Regions from separate parts of the Homo sapiens genome. Here region 1 is linked to region 2. The links are contacts of gene promoters, found by promoter capture Hi-C in human tissues and cell types (Jung and others, 2019). All regions are on one chromosome and are shown on one strand. The core of a region is centred on a gene start or on the middle of the fragment in contact, and the rest is flanking DNA. Distances in the headings are between cores, read along the strand shown. Region 1 has its middle 20 kb from the start of PRB2. Region 2 holds the start of PRB4 (proline rich protein BstNI subfamily 4).

Evidence for each region. The method cuts DNA at HindIII sites, captures the fragments that hold promoters and counts their contacts. A contact is called where the count stands out against the background at its distance.
Region 1: a fragment that was not itself captured here is called in contact with the fragment with the promoter of PRB4 in region 2 in 2 of the 25 tissues and cell types used here (adrenal gland and pancreas).

Annotation. Positions count from the first base shown.
Region 1 is chr12:11,373,742-11,376,821 of GRCh38, reverse strand. No RefSeq gene overlaps it. Among named protein-coding and RNA genes, the nearest start is that of PRB2, 20 kb to the left of the region's middle. The HindIII fragment of the contact is 3,954 bases long and covers 1-3,080 here.
Region 2 is chr12:11,308,906-11,312,175 of GRCh38, reverse strand. PRB4 (proline rich protein BstNI subfamily 4) reads left to right here and starts at 1,740. Exons shown (of 4, transcript NM_002723.6): 1 at 1,740-1,841; 2 at 2,771-2,806. The coding sequence starts at 1,778. The HindIII fragment of the contact is 9,974 bases long and covers 1-3,270 here.

The DNA.
Region 1 (3,080 bases), core at 555-3,054, 65 kb before region 2:
ATGCCTTTAACGAGGTATCCTGAAGTTATCACTATCCCTGAGCCAAAACTGAATGATGTCACAAAAGTTATTCGAGGCCTGAAATGATAAGTGGCAGCTGTTAATACTGACTAACCTGCATTTTCCATAAAAAGATGAAATGATGGGCAGAAACTACTTGATATAACAGAGAAGTCAGTGGATGAAAAGAGAGCTACCAACACAAACTCAGTAAAAATACTTTGGAAATACAGTATATTGATCCAAATTTTAAAAACAAACATAAAATGAAAGGAGTAAGAAGAATTATAGATGCTTACTTAGAAGAGTCGATTTAAGAAAATTCCCAAAATGTATTTATAAAGAAGCCAGACATAAGATGAAAAATAAACACAGGGAAGATTATTTAGAACAGAAAATGTCAACAAATACATTTTAGAAAGCGAGTCTTGAGAAATTAGTTTCAGAATATTGCAAAAATAAAAAAAATTTCTGTTTGGAAGAAGAATCTGGGAGACAGCACATGTACTAAGAAATAGATCAGTGCAATACCCTTGAGGCTTTTATGTGGGTTCCTGACTATCTTATTGGGATATATAATTGTGGCCACTCATTGTAAGTGGGAGTGATTAAAAATTTTTCCTAGAAGAATAACTGAATGTAGTGACTCATGTCTGTTATCCCAGGACTTTGGGAGGGTGAGTTGGATGGATCCCTTGAGGCCAGGAGTTTAAGACCAGCCTGAGCAACAAATTGTGGATCCATCTCTTCAAAAAATTTTTAAATAAATTAAAAAATAATAAACGGGCATGGTGGGTGTCATGAACCTGTAATTCAAGCTACTCAAGTGGTTGAAGTGGGGGGAATCCCAAGAGCACAGGAGTTCTAGGATGCTGGAATCCATGATCAGGACACCACCCTCCAGCTTGGGTGACAGAGCGAGAGCCTATATTTATATATATATAATCTTGTAAGACATAAAGTCCAAACTGTATCTGATCAAACATTCTAATAAAGGGGAAGAGCAAGAAAAAATTCTTAAAGACATGAAGTAGGATGGCTCATTCAAGAACTTCTATTCATTCTGTTCATTTCTAGAAACCTCTGGTAGATTTTGTGTCCAACTTTGTTTTAACCTCTCCACGAATATTAATAATAGAATTCGTTAAGACACCTGTATCCTAAAACACCGAGACTTTTCTGATCGGAGCCAGATCCAAGGAATATTGGACAATCTGTGTGGGTCCGACCGGGCTGAGGGCCAACCTTCTGTCAGCCATGAATGGCCAGGTTTGTGTTGTCTGCACATAGCTCAAAGTTCTAAAGACATAACCTCTATATAATCAAATATTTAGCGAAATATGATAGGCATAGGTATACAAAACTCCACAGCCAACCTACCTCTTGTTCCTTAGAATATGATTGTGTTCAGAAAATAGCCCTAAGAAGAGGTGATCAAGCTAAAATGAGGGAGTTTCAGTGGAACTAAATCCAATAAGATGAATGTCCTTAGAAAAAGTGGAAATTCCTTATAAGAACTGGAAATTTGCACACAGAGAGACACAAGAAGTACGTAGGCACAGACGCAGCCCCATGGGAGGACACAGCAAGAAGGTGATATCTAGATGCCAAGTAGACAGGGCCAAGAAGAACTGGACCTGCTGACACATTCACCGTGGAACTTGAGCATCCAGAAGTGTCGGAAAATAATTTCTGTTGCTTAAGAATATTAGTCTGTGATATTTTGCTTGGACAGGTATAATGAAGAAATTCAGGGGAGAGCAGGTTTTAGGAGGCAGAAATTAAGAGTCCTGCTTAGTGCAGGAGTGTAATGTAAACGGTATGGTTACATTATTTTAAATGGCAAGTGGATTGCTGACGTCCTTGACTCATGGACAAATGCCTAAGCTTTTGTTGCCATCTTGCTCCTTGCTTTTACCCCATCCTAAATCAGTGACACTGTCTCCATCAGTTCTTTGGTAACCTCTATTTTGCTTGTCTCTGGTAGCTTGATATCTGATATTTAGTCCTTCCTGATATGCTAATCTCTTTCACTCATTTCTGACATAGGAGAAGGTCAGGGCATGAGTTGAGTGATATTTGGAAGGATCACCTCTTGCCTTGCTGTACTCAGCAGACAAGGAGAAGTCTGTCTCTAACCAGGACTGCAGCTTCCCCACTGATTCCCACAAGGAGTCACATCTGCCTGGCTCTCCCCTCTGCTTCTTCTCTCTTGCGTTTCTTTCCTTCCTGATGGGCCACCATAAGCTACCTAGGCCAGACTGCCCATCAACAGCTTCCTTTTCAAACAATGTTTGGTGAAACCAGAGAAAATCATTCAATAACATCAGGACACCAGATTGGCCCAAGCACTCTGTGTCTCTCTGAAAGAATGTGAATCTCAGTTACAAATGTTAAACTTTCTATGTAACTGGAGAATATTTGGCCACTGGTATTATATTCCATCTTCAGAAAACATCCCTATTTATCCTAAGAGAAAAACAAGACAGCAATCTGCCTAGTCAGCTGCAAAATTCTAAGTTACCTCTAGTAGAGCTTATTGTATCAGGATGCCTTCCTATATGCAGTGGGTTGTTCAAATGTTGAAGGAAAAGGTATATCCTATTAAGAAACACCATGAATGGATTCCAATGTTTTGGCACCAAAATGAAATCATAATCTTTTGCTATAACATGTCTGAACAGGAGCTAGTATGAGGCATCAAGAAAAATAAGAGCAGTTTCAAAAGAGCCCCTAGAAGACCAACATGAATTTTTCTAAAATTAAAGTGAGTATAAACATCAAATTTATGGTGAAGCTTGGGTGGAGGAAGGCAAAATCATTGATGGTGTCCAAAGAGTTGTCCTACTTGACACGTGGTAAGTTGACATTGGTTGAAGAAGTCAGCAGTTCACAAATTCAATGAGGAGTTCATTTCAAGAAGGAATGAGGCAATGTTGAACCTAAAGCTTATCGTGACAGATGATTCACATCATATTGCAAGGAATAAATTCATCTTCTTTATACCCAGGAGAAGAGGTGTGATGATTAGCAGCTCACACAATAACCAACACTGCAGACTTCTCAGTTGGTTCAGTTTA
Region 2 (3,270 bases), core at 491-2,990:
ACCTAAGCAGGATTGCTCATCTCCAGTTGTATTCCCATTTCAAGTACGTGTATATTTTTGTCAGGGAAAATACCAATCTTCGTGGTTCCCTTGCAAGGGCAAAGTTATCTGTAGCAAAGCCTTTTTTATTAGGAAGTCTGCTTGTACTATTACCTGCAACTCTTCAGAAGGGCCACCCAGATTCTCATCTGCAAAGCCCAGGATCTACTCATCCACAATGTTCAAGAGGCCTGTCTTTAGGATTTACTGTCACATACCCTCTCTACCTCCATCATACCTCCAACCAAGGTGTTCTCAAATTAATACCAGCCATGCACAAAATGTGAACAATTACACAAGACACATGGAAGGTCTAAGTGGTAAATGGCAGCTGTTGATACTGAGTAACCTGTATATTCCATGAACTGATAAGCAGGTATTTATCAGATATAACGAAGAATCAGTAGCTGAAAGAAGTGCTAACAATGCAGGTCTCTGATAGGGCTTTTTGGAAACACAACACGTATTATGAAATTACACAGACAAGAATGAAACAAAGATGGTAAGTACTATATCCTAATACTTAGAAGATTAAATAAAGGAAATCTCACCAAATTCATGGGGAAAAAAGCCAGATACATAAAGAAAAATACACATAATGGGCTTGACTCAGAAAATAAAATATGAACAAAGAAGAACCAGAAAGAAGGTGGGGAGGAATGCATATCAGAATATTATAGAAAAATACTCTTTGTGGAAGAACAATCTGAGAAAACAGGTAACACAAATACTGACTAAACCAAGAATACCAATATAATGCAATTTAGGCTTTAACGAGGGTATCTGATTATCCTATTTGAATGTAGAATTGTAGCCACTTAATTATAAGTGGTAGGAATTCAATACAATTATTAAAAGAAATGAAGCAGAGGGTGAATATTATAGAATATTCTGGACAAAGGGAAGAGCATGAAGGAAGTTTTGGCAACATGATATCGCATGGCTCCCGCAAGGAATTATGTATTCAGTTTTCTCAGATCTAGAAATTTCCTTATGGTTTCTGTGTACATTTTGCATTAATAACCCCTAAAGGTACTTTAAAATACACAATTTTGGCCTTCCTGTGTGGCACAACAACAAGCCTTGCCTGAGCTGAGTCAGATCCACAGAAGCTTGAACAATAGTTGTAGCCCGAGCAGGCTGTGGGGCAGCTTTCTGTCATCTATGTGTGCCCAGGAGTGTGTTGTCTTCACACCATCACACAGGTAACAGAAACCATCTCTATCGCATCAAAACTTTAGCCAATTGTGATACTATCTGTACACACACATCACAAGAGATGGAAATAGGCTCTATAAAGAGCCAGAGAAATTGACCATCTTCACTGCTGGCTGTAGCTTCACTGCCCCCACAAATATTACACAGAAATAAATAGTAGAGTGGAAAGCAGACATAGTCTTACCAAAAGGATTGAAACTCTAATGATGTCTGAAGTTCAATTATGACACAGTGCTGATAGCTTGGACACAGTTCCTTTAGAACCTTTATTCAAGTCATAGTCGTACCTTTTAGAAATAAGGCACAAACAACATCCAACCCACCCCATCCCTCTGGGCTAGAGTCCCAAAGAGAAATAAGGGATACACCTGACCTGCAGTAAGGAAAGCAGAACCCAGTCTCTGAGGTGGTGAGGCCCACCCAGGGCTCAAAGGTGCCATTGTTTTGCTCCTCTTTATAAAGGGAGTTGCCACGTTCCTCCCAGCACAGAGTTGGGAGTGACTCCAGAGCCTCCAGCGAGATGCTGCTGATTCTGCTGTCAGTGGCCCTGCTGGCCCTGAGCTCAGCTGAGAGTTCAAGTGAAGGTAAAACAGAAGGGGGAAAAGATGCGGTGACTGCTTGGGACTTAGGAGGTGACAGTGGTAATTATGGGGAAGAGAGGAGAATGAAAACACAGATGGGGCTGCAGAGTTTTCATGCCTAGGATCAGGAGACCTGTTGTGCCCTCATTCCACAATAAGGACTTCTAATTTATTTAATGTACAATGAAATCCAATAACGAATTTGTTCCAGGGGAATGAGAAGGTAAGATTTGAATTTATAGAGATAGAACTGTGCTGTGAAGGCTGCAGTGGAGAGTGCAAGGCAGATTCAGGGAAGTCCAGCTGTGAAGATCCTATACTGATCCCAGTAAGTACACAGGGATGATGGTGGCCTTGCTGTACAGACAGTCGGCATTGATGATAGAGATACATACACATCAGAGATACTGCAGAGACAGAACTGGATAGAACACTTGTCTCTGTCTAACTAAAGATGTAGAAATATCAGAGCCAATCATTACAATTTTTCTCTCCCCTACATGCAGTATTTCAATGTGCTGGGAGTGGAATGGGTTAGATTGTATTGAAATGATTACTTCTGGTTACCCCTATTGAGAAAACATGTGTATGTATGCAATATATTAACAGGAGATGGAGGGCATAAGAACACCAAAATATCACATTGAAGTACCTGGCATGCATAAACTAAATAAGCATTAAGTCTTGAGGGATGCTAGGGAGGAAAAAAAGGGGCTGTTCTATGTTGAACTCATTGCTGTTGCTCTGTGTGGTAACAACCCTGCCTCCTCTTACACCTTCCACCCCTTCCAGCACCTTCACAGATGGTGGCTGATGAGTTAACCTAGGGGATGCATGGGGTGTGGTGAGAAGACAATTTTCCCTGTAGAACACTTGTGAGTCTTGAAGATTTGAGATGTAACATTTCCCATCATCCTGTGCTTCTCTTCTAGATGTCAGCCAGGAAGAATCTCTCTTCCTAATATCAGGTAAATCCCAATTCATTCTCAATCTGTTTTGACTCCCTTTTTCTGCTTACAAATGGATCATTTCTCCAGTGTCTTCTTATCAACACTTTCCTTTCAGGAATTGATTAATGTTATTGCCCCTAATGATATAGGCAATCTTCATGCAAACTTGATTCTGGGGACCATGAGCAGGCCACCAAATGGAATGTCAGAGATGCTTGGCTTAGATGACAACAGGAGTGGGTTGACATCCCCCTGGCCAGGAGTGCCTCCTGGGAGATGACAGACAAATGGCCAGTGTCCTTATTCTGACTCCTCCTTAGACTGAGAGCCCCTCAACTTCTCCCTTTTCCCCCAGCGTTCCACTCCAGAGTTCTAGGGCTTCACTGAAAATGCAAAGAAATTAGTATCTGGGTCTCATTTTTGTGCATTTCCCCATTTAGCTCCATTACTGTAAAAATTTGTGGCAACTATTCAGTGAATGC